4 separate regions of the Homo sapiens genome follow, and regions 1, 2 and 3 are each linked to region 4. Evidence: promoter capture Hi-C in 16 types of primary human blood cells and fetal thymus (Javierre and others, 2016). All regions are on one chromosome and are shown on one strand. Each heading gives the region's core, a stretch centred on a gene start or on the middle of the fragment in contact. The rest is flanking DNA. Distances are from core to core; before and after follow the strand shown.

Evidence for each region. Contacts are between HindIII fragments. The CHiCAGO score rates a contact against its expected background, and 5 or more counts as called.
Region 1: a contact is called between a fragment that was not itself captured here and the fragment with the promoter of COPS2 in region 4, in 1 of 17 cell types (neutrophils). The highest score is 5.1, in neutrophils.
Region 2: a fragment that was not itself captured here is called in contact with the fragment with the promoter of COPS2 in region 4 in 4 of 17 cell types (monocytes, M2 macrophages, M0 macrophages and 1 more); the score reaches 7.7 in monocytes.
Region 3: a fragment that was not itself captured here is called in contact with the fragment with the promoter of COPS2 in region 4 in 2 of 17 cell types (monocytes and M0 macrophages); the score reaches 5.7 in monocytes.

The regions. Positions count from the first base shown.
Region 1 is chr15:50,004,580-50,007,390 of GRCh38, forward strand. The region is part of intron 7 of ATP8B4 (ATPase phospholipid transporting 8B4 (putative)); the gene reads right to left. Among named protein-coding and RNA genes, the nearest start is that of ATP8B4, 110 kb to the right of the region's middle. The HindIII fragment of the contact is 5,134 bases long and covers 1-2,811 here.
Region 2 is chr15:50,054,748-50,057,682 of GRCh38, forward strand. All of the region lies in intron 3 of ATP8B4 (ATPase phospholipid transporting 8B4 (putative)), which reads right to left. Among named protein-coding and RNA genes, the nearest start is that of ATP8B4, 63 kb to the right of the region's middle. The HindIII fragment of the contact is 2,591 bases long and covers 329-2,919 here.
Region 3 is chr15:50,125,884-50,128,583 of GRCh38, forward strand. It overlaps a transcript of ATP8B4 not described here. Among named protein-coding and RNA genes, the nearest start is that of ATP8B4, 8.0 kb to the left of the region's middle. The HindIII fragment of the contact is 2,718 bases long and covers 41-2,700 here.
Region 4 is chr15:49,154,126-49,156,930 of GRCh38, forward strand. It overlaps COPS2 (COP9 signalosome subunit 2), which reads right to left and starts at 1,474. Exons shown (of 13, transcript NM_004236.4): 1 at 1,400-1,474. The coding sequence starts at 1,453. It also overlaps a transcript of GALK2 not described here and the pseudogene NDUFAF4P1. RefSeq lists enhancers at 1,220-1,749, 1,508-2,426. The HindIII fragment of the contact is 2,527 bases long and covers 605-2,805 here.

The DNA.
Region 1 (2,811 bases), core at 171-2,670, 850 kb after region 4:
TTTAGTTAGGGTTTACTATGTGTCCAGCACCATCCTAAGAGCTTCACATGCGCTATTTTATTTAACATTCACAGAAATCCTGTAACGCAGGTCTTATTGTTATCTCCACTTTACAGATGAGCAAAGTAAGGCCCAGAGGGCTTCTGTAACTTCCTCAAGGTTACACAGTAAGGGTAGGAGCCAGGATTTGAATCTGGGCATACAGTATGAGGCATATACTGCAAGGGATACCAAAATGAGTAAAAATCTCTTTGCTTCAAGGATTTGTATAGTTTAATAAAGGCAGAATATAAGGTTTCTAAGAGCCTCATTAACAAAGTGCTATGAAAGGAGTGCAAATGAGAGTGCAACGTTGGGTTGGTAGTTGAGGAAGGGCATCATGGAATATTCTAGATGCAGTGAAAGGAAGTCCCCAAGGCAGAATGACTAGCAGGAGTAAAGAAGAGGAAAGGAAAAGCGTGAATATCCAAACTCACAAGTGGGCCAGGATATCATTAATTCTGATCAGAACCACCTATCATATGCCCCATATTTACTTTCTTTTGTGAATTATTCATGCCTTTTCTCCTTGCTCTGCCAGGAGAGGCTCTGCTATGTTCTTCATGAAGGAACCAGTGTTTTCCAACACAACGCCCCTTCCCCAACTTCCATGGGCAACAGAAAACAAATATTCCCATCAGAAGGAATCTGAAAAGAATGCACTGAACATATTTGGGTCCTCAGAGCCAAAGACATTGTCCTCATAGGGTTATTAGGCATAATAAATATTTGTTGAGTTAAAGAATAAAGTAAAATGTAAAGCAATGATAACACCCTAAAGCTGTACAATTCTTTAAGGATTTATAAAACCCTCTCTCATAATTGTGTCGTTTTACTCTCTTCACAACCCTGTGAGTGAGTAGTATTATTCCCATTGTATGGATGAGGAACCCAGGAGGTCATATCTGGCCCAGGAGTGAGGGAGGAATAGACTCTACCACACCCACCAGAAGAACTAAATTAACTCATGTAAAGCCCATGGCCCTTCCAAAGTCATTGAGGAACCCAAGGGCCCAAGAGACTTAACACAATCCTCATGGACACTCATAGCTTAAATTGCAGAGCTGGAATTAGAATTTAGAACTTCTGATCCCAAAATGTATGCTCTTTTCCTCTGGTGGGCTACTAAATCACTGGAACACAACTACGAAAAACAGAAAGTATTTCACTTTGTTTTATGTTTTGTTTTGCTTTGTTGGTGTTCAAAAATCAAAACTACAATGGTGAAAGAATATTTGGATTGTGGCTCCATGACCTGATGGAAAGATAAATTTGTAGAATTAAGTTGAACACTTTTGGATCGCCTTTTATTTTTTAGGCCATTCTCACACAGAGTTCTTCATCTTCTCTATCATCTACAACATTATCTTTTATTTTAATCTAAAAATAAAAATAAACCAAATACCTCATGCATTGAGTCAAAAAATGAGAATGAGATCCTAAAAATGAAGTTTATATGGTAATAGGTAACGTTTGTATTTAAAATTTAAATTTCAGGTCCAATAAATGCATATTGATTACTAATATGTACGGGATACATCATTGTTTTTCTAATTACAGTGATTTGAGAAGAATAAGAAAAAGATGGTGACAAAGAAGAGAAGGAAGGCTGAGAATAATAATGGACATCATAAAATTTATTAACAGGCAGGCTGTTCCTCTAGTCAAAAAAAAAAAAAATCCTTGCCTGAATATTTTACCCCCACTTTCTACTGTCATATAAATATGACAAATAGATATATATCAGAGAGAGAGACAGAAAGAGATAGAAAGATAGAGATGGTTTACTTACAGCAAATAGGTTGGAACAACAAGCAACTCTGACGTGAAGTTATAAAACTTAAAAGAGCAATGAGGGCAATGAGACCACCAAAAAAAAAAAAAAAAAAAAAGGCCTCTCTGGAAGTGTGTCCAAGATAGGTGTTGAAAAAGAACAGATGAAATTCCCTGATGAGTCAAGAAAGAGCAAAAGCCCACCCCAGTCACGCCTGGAGTTTAGGTCAAATTAATCATTCTAGCCCTATCATTTCCGAAGAATAAAATTGTCAATTCCTCTATCAGAAGAATGCCTTGGTTTTAAAACAACAATTCTATGAATGCCTTTTTGTGAAGGGAAAGGAAGGACTTTTCAAACAAGCTAAACAACTCAATTCTAGTAATGTTCAAATATGCTCATGCCAAGTAAGGATTTTATTTCTACCATCAGCTAAGAAAAGTGAAACAACACAAGAGTACTGCTGTCCAGTGAAGGAGAAAGGTACACCTGGCTCCCACGGTCCGAGTTCCGGTGGTATCAGGAACTCTGCAGTATGTTTTTCTAACAAAATTTATTTGGTTCTTCTAATGCAAGTCAGACTCCTTGTGGTATCTGAATTATACTCTGCATTTTTCCTGGTCCTTCCAAAAAACTAGGAATTCTGGCAATTCAGCCCACAAGTATTCTTGAATTTTAAAATGTACATACAAATGCAGAACATAAAAAAAATAAATAAATAAAAATAAATAAAAGGTAAGTAACTTCTGAATATGCCAGCTAATTGGCAATCTCCGGTGAGCTTTTTTCCTTGCTTAAAATTTACTGATAAACTGACATAAATCAGGTTGCAAATTCTAAGTTCGAACAGCTAGAAGTTATGCATCTGCACTGGGCACAACATATTTTCTGATCACTTGGCTTCCAGCATCCAAGCCAAGAGCCCCTAACTCTGGTAGCCCAGACTCAAGTCAATGAGGATGACTGTTCCAATGGAGTAAGGAACAGCAAATGGTAGT
Region 2 (2,935 bases), core at 374-2,873, 900 kb after region 4:
CACTCCAGCCTGGGCGACAGAGGGAGACTCCGCCTCAAAAAAAAAAAAAAAAAAAAAAAAAACAAAAAAAAAAAAACACCAACCTCAGCACTTTAAATTCAGTCCTGTTAACGACACATGTAATATTCCTTTGACTATTTCCTCTCCCCATCAGCTAAACAATGTGCCAAATTCCTTAGTTTCACGAACTGGATAGATTCATCTCCCATCCATAATTCCAGGGTCAAATTAGCTTAAGGCAAGTACATGGCCCACCCTCCTAATTACAATTTTGAATTCAGACACTGGCACATAAACTACGTCAATTCTGAAATTTGCTGATAATGTAAGCTTTCTCTTTTCTATTGCATTCCAATCTGGAAACAAGTAGCCCTAGAGATTACTAACAGCAACTTGGGGCTATGAGTGGGGAGGCTGCCAAGAACAAACTCCGCACTAAAAATGCAGGGCCAAGAAATGCAGAGAAAGAAACTAGACCAAGCCTCTCCTGAGACTAGCCCTATCTCTGGACTTTTCAGCTACATGATCTGTCCATTCAACTCAAACTAAGTCAATTTGAGTTGGTTTTTCTTTTACTCTCAACCAACCAAACACCAGGTAAGAACATTCATAATATATGCAAGATCAGTTTGCTTTTTAAATAATAGCTTACTTGTATCTCTATGTTTGTCTTAAAGAATGCATCCCAGAAGGCTTAAACCCAAATGAGCTCAGCAGTTGTCCAGAGACACTGCCTACGTCTATGAATCCCACAAGCCCCAGGAGCTTTTGCAATCAGTACCACAGTTTCCTCACTATCAAATCATCATCCCACATTTGATGAAACATTTGTACATCATGACAACTATAAAAAGTAACCTTCCAGAGCTTGAGGGGGAAAACATCTAGCCCTTCTTGCCACAAAAGGAGGCAAATACAGTATTTTTATGGTACAATCCAGATTCCAGAGACAGAAATAATCCTGACTAATAAGGGAGAGATTATCTCTAAGCCATAAAATAAAAAACAAAAAGGGATTGTGTCCACAAACTACTGGCATAAAAGAGGAAGTAGCCAAAAGGCATTTGTACCGCTCAGAAAATATGTGAATTACCCATGTTCATGCAAAGAACCCAAAAGAATGCATGTATGGGACCTGGAGATTAGACATCTGGTACCTCACTGATACCAGGAAGAACCCCTGGTAGTTCCTCAGTATCAGCTGACTGTTGCCTGGTGCAGAGTCCACAGCTTTCCAGGATAGGGGCAATGGAAAGACGACAGTGCTCTTCTACGAACGCTGCTGAGGAAGCCTCAATCACAGAAGAGGCTTTGCAGAGTGTGTCAATCAATACTGACTACACTCATCATCACCACCACCACCACCACCATCATCTTAACGTTCTCCTGAGCCTCAGCTCCCAGACTTGAGCAGAAAACGTGTATGAGGAGGCAAAGAGCAGAGGGCACATATCCCCCAACATTCATTCATTCATTCATTCAACTAATTTTTGTTAAAGTCCTTCTGTGCTTCAGGCAATAATGTTATTGAGCCAGGGCTACAGACATGAGTAAGCAAAGACCCTCCCATCATCGAGTAAGTTTGTATGTTAGTTGTGGAGAGAGAGGCAGGAACAAGCAGACAATAAACTTGTAAACTGATGACACAATTTCAGGAGGTGATCATCAAATACTATGACAAAAACAATGAACAATAGAGCAAGAGCACCTTGCCTGCCAAGACTCCCTCAGGAAGCCTTCTTGCTTGATTTTCCAGGTTAATGCAGTATCAAGATTACCCTACTTGGTGAGACCAGTGGGAATACGTGTCCCCTAGGGGTGCTCGTTTCCTGGGTGCCCAAAAGAATCCTTTGGGCTATGAGAAATAAAAAAGAACTTCATGTATATTTTAACTAAAAATGTTAAAGTTACTAACATTTAATTACTATACACAATATATGTATATGTATATGTGTATATATATATATATACACACACACACACACACACACCTATAGCAAAGACAATATAATATCTATATTATCTATAGTAAAAACATATAGTACACACATGCATATATGTGTATACACACATATAAATATTAACAGTAAAGACAATCTATGCATTGTCTATATGTATACACACATATAGATTAATTTCTTTTTATTTTTTTATTTTTTATTGAGACAGAGTCTCGCTATGTTGCCCAGGCTGATCTCGAACTCCTGGCCTCAGGTGATCCTCCCACCTCGGCCTCTCACAGAACTGGGATTACAGGTATGAGCCACCACATTCGGTCAGATTTAATTTTCTTTTACAAGTGAGGAACATGCTCATAAACTTTGAAAACTGTGGACTAAACACTTATGGACAAAGGAGCTCATCTGTGCCTCCTCCTTTTAGATCTCATGTCACTAAGACTTGGGCACATAATGGAGAACATATAACTTTCTATGTCATAGATTCTCTGGGTCATACAGTGACACCAGATAATGGTATTGCCTCCTTCCATCTCCAGGCGCTATGCTGAACACTATATCATCTCAGGCAGTCCTTAAAAAATCCAATGAGCTGTGACTATTTCAGCACCATTTTACAGATGAGGAAACTGAGGCTTTGAACAGTTGTGAGGGTTGCCCATAAAAGCAAGTATTGTACAATCCTGTGTTCTCCCAAATGGTGTTTCGTGAGCAACGAGTCAGAAACTAGGAAGTCTCTAGACTGCCTTTTGGTTAATGGACTCACTGGCCCTCATCCGACATCCTTCACTCTGGTGAAGAACAGAACCTCTCTAAACTAAAGCACAGTGAAGAGCTCACATTAATTCAATCAGCTGGAGCAGTCACTTCCAGTCCTTTCAATCTAGGGAGAACATTGCTGGGCTTGTCTAGGGAGCTCATTTTCCATCTAGACCCCAGGAACAGAGATAGTGGCCAGGAAAGCTTTCAGGCCTCTG
Region 3 (2,700 bases), core at 150-2,649, 970 kb after region 4:
TGCAGAAAACTGAATCTATGCTCCCAGGTTGCAATCCTCAAGCTTGGCCCAAATAAACCCTCTAGTTATATCTATTTTGCCTGGGATTCTTTCTTTTAGGTCGATATCTGCCCTAACAAGAATCCTTCTAGTGGAAGAGAAAATAGTTGTGAACAAATTGTGACACAATGTGATAGTAACTCTAATTTAGGTGTCCCTTGTCCAAACAGGCTTCGGAACTACAGGAGAGGGGAAGCCATATTTCAGTGTGGGTGTGGAGGTGTCACGGGAAACCCTCAGAACAAGTGAAGCTGAGTCCTGAAAGATGAGTAGATGAGTTAGGGAGGGTCTTGTTAGTTCCTAACAAGCTAACAGTCCAAAAAAAAAAAAAAAACACTTCACTAATACTGTCAGAGGCGTCCAAGGCCTTTGAACCAGAGCAACTCCATCTTACATTCCCAGAAGATTAGTCATTCTTAGACACAGTTTCAGTTAAGGGAACAGGTTAATAATGTTTACTGAACAGACCCAGGAAATGTCCCGATGACCTGATATTGTTACTGGAAAGGGATCCCAATCCAGATCCCAAGAGAAGGTTCCTGGACCTTGTGCAAGAAAGATTTCCATTTGGTGGAGGTCCGAGTTTCTGAAAAGTAAACTCAGGGTCATATGTCAAGATGTTATCTTTAGCTTCTGTAGAGAACCAAACATCTTATGACTATAACTTCTTTAGCTATTATTTTAAGCTACTATTACTCTCTTACTTATCAAGTTGCTCATTTAATTCTCAGGACTAGCTAGGTGCCTGGAATTTCCATTGAAGAAACGCAAGATTTTCCTTTATTTCCATGCTTGGTGGAGGGTGGCAGGCAATCTGATAAGCAAGGAGGTAATAATAGCTTGAAACAATAGCCAAAGAAGTTAGAGTCCCAATAGAAACTAAAAATAACATCTTAACATATGTCCCTGAGCTGTTTTGCAGAAACCTGCCCACAGCCCCCACACCCCCCCGCCACCAAATGGAAAACACCATCCACTGGCACAACAGACCTTGGGGAAGGGGGAACTGGAGACTGAAATCTGACCACTGTTCTTCATTCTAAATTTCTTCCTGAGGGGCCTGGCAGAAGTTATACCTACAGGCCAGAGTTCAACATTCCTTTCTGCTGACCCCAAGTTTTTAAACAAATCTTAACCAATCGCAGATCGGGAAATCTTTGAATCTACCTGTAACCTGTGGACCCCCACTTCAAGATGTCTCCCCCTTTTTAGGTCAAACCAATAGCCTCCATGTATTGATTTATGGCTCTGCCTGGAACCTCTGCCTCCCTGCCTTTAAAAACTCTTACATGGAAGCCATCAAGGGGTTTGGGTTTTAAGATTAGCTGCCCAATTCTCCTTGCATAGCACCCTGCAATAAATGCTTCACTTTTCCTCACTGCAAATCAATCCCAGTGTTAGTATTTGGCTTTGCTGCATGGGCAGGCAGATTAACTGACCCATGTTCAGTTCAGTAACAATGGCCTTCCTCTACTGTGACTTGGGCTTCCATTCTAAATGGCTTGAGTGAGTCACAAACATACATCCCACAGCAATCGTGAATGTGGAGAGCAAAGGTGAGTTTGCCATCATCTCAGTATATCAGTCAATGTAATTTCTAGGTCCTAATGGATCAGAGACCAGGCAAAGATTAGGCAAGAATTGAGTCATGGAGGCCTCAAATGTTGCCTTATACACACTATCTCTGAGGATAGCAACCTAGACGCATTCTCTCTTAGATAAATAAACTGCTGCAGCTTGTGCTATAATACCGATTGCAAAGAAATTGATCCTACAGAACTAGAAGACTGCACTGGAGCAGGAGGTTAAAGCATCGGATGGCAGGAGGGAGATAAAACTGTTCAAGGCAGCTCTAGGACCATCCTGTCCTCTAGAGATATCCCATTATACATAGGGAGAGGAACAAACACCAGTAAGGTCTGTCTTTGAAGAAATATTAATTTCAGATGAACAATACCAAGGTGTGCCTCACTGTGGTTCTGCACACATCCCCACCAATGCTGAGCCATCTTTAGGTAGAGTGTGCCCCAGTCTCAAGGCCCAGGAGCTACAGCAGATGAGCAGATGATGGAGCTACTTCTTGTGCAACCCCATGTTTCTGTGCATTTCAGGGTAAGGAAGGTGCTACCTTCAGAGCTTCTCTTTTGAGTAAGCCAGTGTTTCGTTTTGTATCCAGTCTGTCAAGGAAAGAAGGAATTAATATCACCCCAGAAAAGCAGGAGGAACACTTATGGAGTTAAGTCATGCCAGAGACCAGCGAAAGAAGGGGAATCATGGAGACAGACACCAGAGTCCTGGGTTTTCCTAGCTTCAGAGCTAAACTTCAAGAGGGAGCTGGCTTTAGAAACATCCAGAGAGTTGGAGTCACATGGAAAATCTAGGCTAAGCACCCATTTCCTTTGGGTCTGAAGGGTGCCCTTCTCCATCAGAGCATCAGATCCAGCAAAGCTGGGAGCAGTATGGAACACTGGAGGAGAAAGGTGGCTGCAGATGCTTGAGGCTATGTTCCTGCCTCCTTGTGGCTGATGAAGGGCAAGGCCTGGGCCAAAATGACAAGATCTGCTTGTGCAAAGAGAATCCAGAGGACCTGGCATGGATCCAAGGCTCCCACTTCCCTCTACTGTCACAGAGTCACACAGGTTCTCTGTGATGCCATTCTGG
Region 4 (2,805 bases), core at 224-2,723:
CGAAACCCCCCATAAATATGTACAAAATACTATGAATCAATTAAAAAAATACAAGCACATATAAAAGAAACATTTTGATAACAAAACACCTGTAATATAAATAAACAGGTAATAAGTAAAAATGGACAGATACATATTCTTAATGAACTGAAGTCACTGCCTACAACTGGCTTGCACAAACTAAAATGTAAGGTAGAAACCATAACTATTAGCGAAACTACATTTAACTTTAAAAATTATAAAAATCTCTACTATGACTTTCAAATAATAGCGAGAATTTCCTTTCTCCCTTTTGCAAAGTGTGCCTTATTTTAAAATGCAAAAAACTGAAAATATATACGAAAAAGTTATAGACTAATTCAAAACAATGTATTAATATTTTGACAATCTCTGGCACTTAAAATGAGTCAGACGTCCCAAAACATCTATTTCGTAACTTTATGATAATGCAGCATCACCATAAAAGAACCATATGAAACACCCCCAAAATAAAGAAACACAGCAAAATTGACGTTAATTCTGGATCAAGATAATTTTCTGAGTTTCCACACGATGTTTTTGAATAGCAAACGTTATTCAAACTTGCAAATCCATTAATAAATGAAGCTTTGAATCTTTAAAAATCTCCATTCGGTCAGAAAAATTCGTTTATTTCTATGCTGTTGCTGTTTTAAACTTTGTATACTGGGAAATTTCTAAGGGAAAAGCCATGGGTTCAATTATCTTTCACCCGTCCTCCAAAAACACCACAAGCAAAACCTCCTCCCCAGCTTTTCTTTATAAAGAACTGAAAAAGTGGTTCGACTACCTTTTTTTCAGTTATCTTTGCTCTGAACTCTCCCCTACACACTTACCTCGGACCAAAACTGGCCCTGGCAAGACTATTTAAGCTATGTCTCCAGGAGACTCACAAGTTGCGTTTCGCAGTCAGGCCTGGGAGCAGTAAGGACACCCCCGTTTTCTGACTTCTCCTAGCATTTCGCACCCGCTCAGTTCCAGTGTGAAGAAGTGGGGGCCCGGAACGCTGGGCCCGAAAGGGCAAAGCCAGGGCCTACACCGCAGCATGGTCACCGAGGCGGCTAGCGCGGTGGGGAGGCAGAAGACAGAGAACCGAACGCCTGGGACCAGGGGCATCCGTGTAAACCGAAGAGGCGCTCAGACTCGGAGGGCAAGGCCCGGGGCCCCCTTCGCTGCCTCCTTTGCCCTCCCTTCCCCCATGCTGGAGAAGCAGGGCCCGGGCCCGGTGCGGGAACGGGGAGGAGGTAAACCAGTCCTGTCACCGCACTGAGAGAGGCTGTAAACGGCACATGCTCTACGGGGAGAGGCCGCGGGCGCCCCGGCCCGGACCCCGAAAACAAGACACATCACCACCCTCAGAGTTCCATTCCCTGCGCCTCACCAGGTCGTAGTCCTCCTCATCATCGCACATGAAATCATCCTCCATGTCAGACATCTTGGCCGGGAGGGGGAGGAGAAATTGGAGACAACCTCCTCCCACAATCCTCCGCGGCTCAGAGGCGTCACTCTCAGCTTCTTTCCGCCTTCCAGTCCCTCTTAGAGGAGCTGTTTCCTGCCGGAACTAATTATCTCGACTTGTAGCTGATTCGCTACGACTCCAAAAGAGACTGCACCACCCCCCGTTTCCTCCGAAGTGGTTGGTGCCTTAGCAACTAAAGCTGGCAACTGGGACATCGTCCGGTGCTGCAGGTCTCAGCCGAAGGGCGTCGGAAACTGCGCTCGCATCGAGCAGTTTCCAGCCTCCTGGGTAAAGGAGCAGTCTCCTCCCTTGCTTGGGACTCTGGACGCATCTCATTCCGGTGAAAGTAAGGGACAGCTTAGGACCAGAAGCCTTTCGCGGAGAAAAGGCTGACATGCCCGTCCTATATGACAGGTATTATTTCTGCTATCATTGTACGTGTGCATTTAGCCCACACATTGCGGTGGGTGTTCCTAAGATACTTGGAGTACTTTTCAGCAACACAGTTTACACTTAATGCTTGTTATATTTGTAGTTGACAAAACAATTCTATGGATATCCTAAATTAGGTATGCAGCTATCAGTTGAGTTGCCTTAAATCTTACTCAGTTGTTCAACGAGTTGTAAACTGACCTTTACAGCCCTTGGGACCAAATTAAGGTAACAACGACTGGTTTTTAAAAAATACATTACTGTGAACCTGAGGGCATCATGTTGTAAGGAGATGGGGGCTGCGGTGACTCGCGGGATCAGGAATTTCAAGAGAACCGAGCGGAAAGGGAAATCCGCAACATGAAGCCCTCTCTCGCTCCCAGGCACCCCTCTACCAGCAGCCTCCTGCCAGAGCAGATTAGTCTCTATCCAGAAATTAAGGGAGAGATTGCTCGTAAAGATGACAAGCTGCTGTCATTTCTAAAATATGTGTGTGTTGATTCCAAAGATCCTGTGTCTTCCGTGCAGCTGAAAGCTGCTGAAACACGTCAGGAGCCAAAGAAATTCAGATTGCCGAAAGGCCATCACTTTGATATGATAAATATTAAGAGCATTCCCAAAGGCAAAATTTCCACTGTAGAAGCATTGACACTTTTCAATAATCATAAACTTTATCCAGAAACATGAACTGCTGAGAAAATAGCGCAAGAATATCATTTAGAACAGAAAGATGTGAATTCCCTTCTTAAATATTTTGTTACTTTTGAAGTCAAAATCTTCCCTCCTGAAGACAAGAAAGCAATACAATCAAAATGAAGAAAATCACAAAAATTTCCTATGTGTACTCCTCATCCCTCATCCTGTATATTTTCTTATTTTTGCATATTAAATTATGT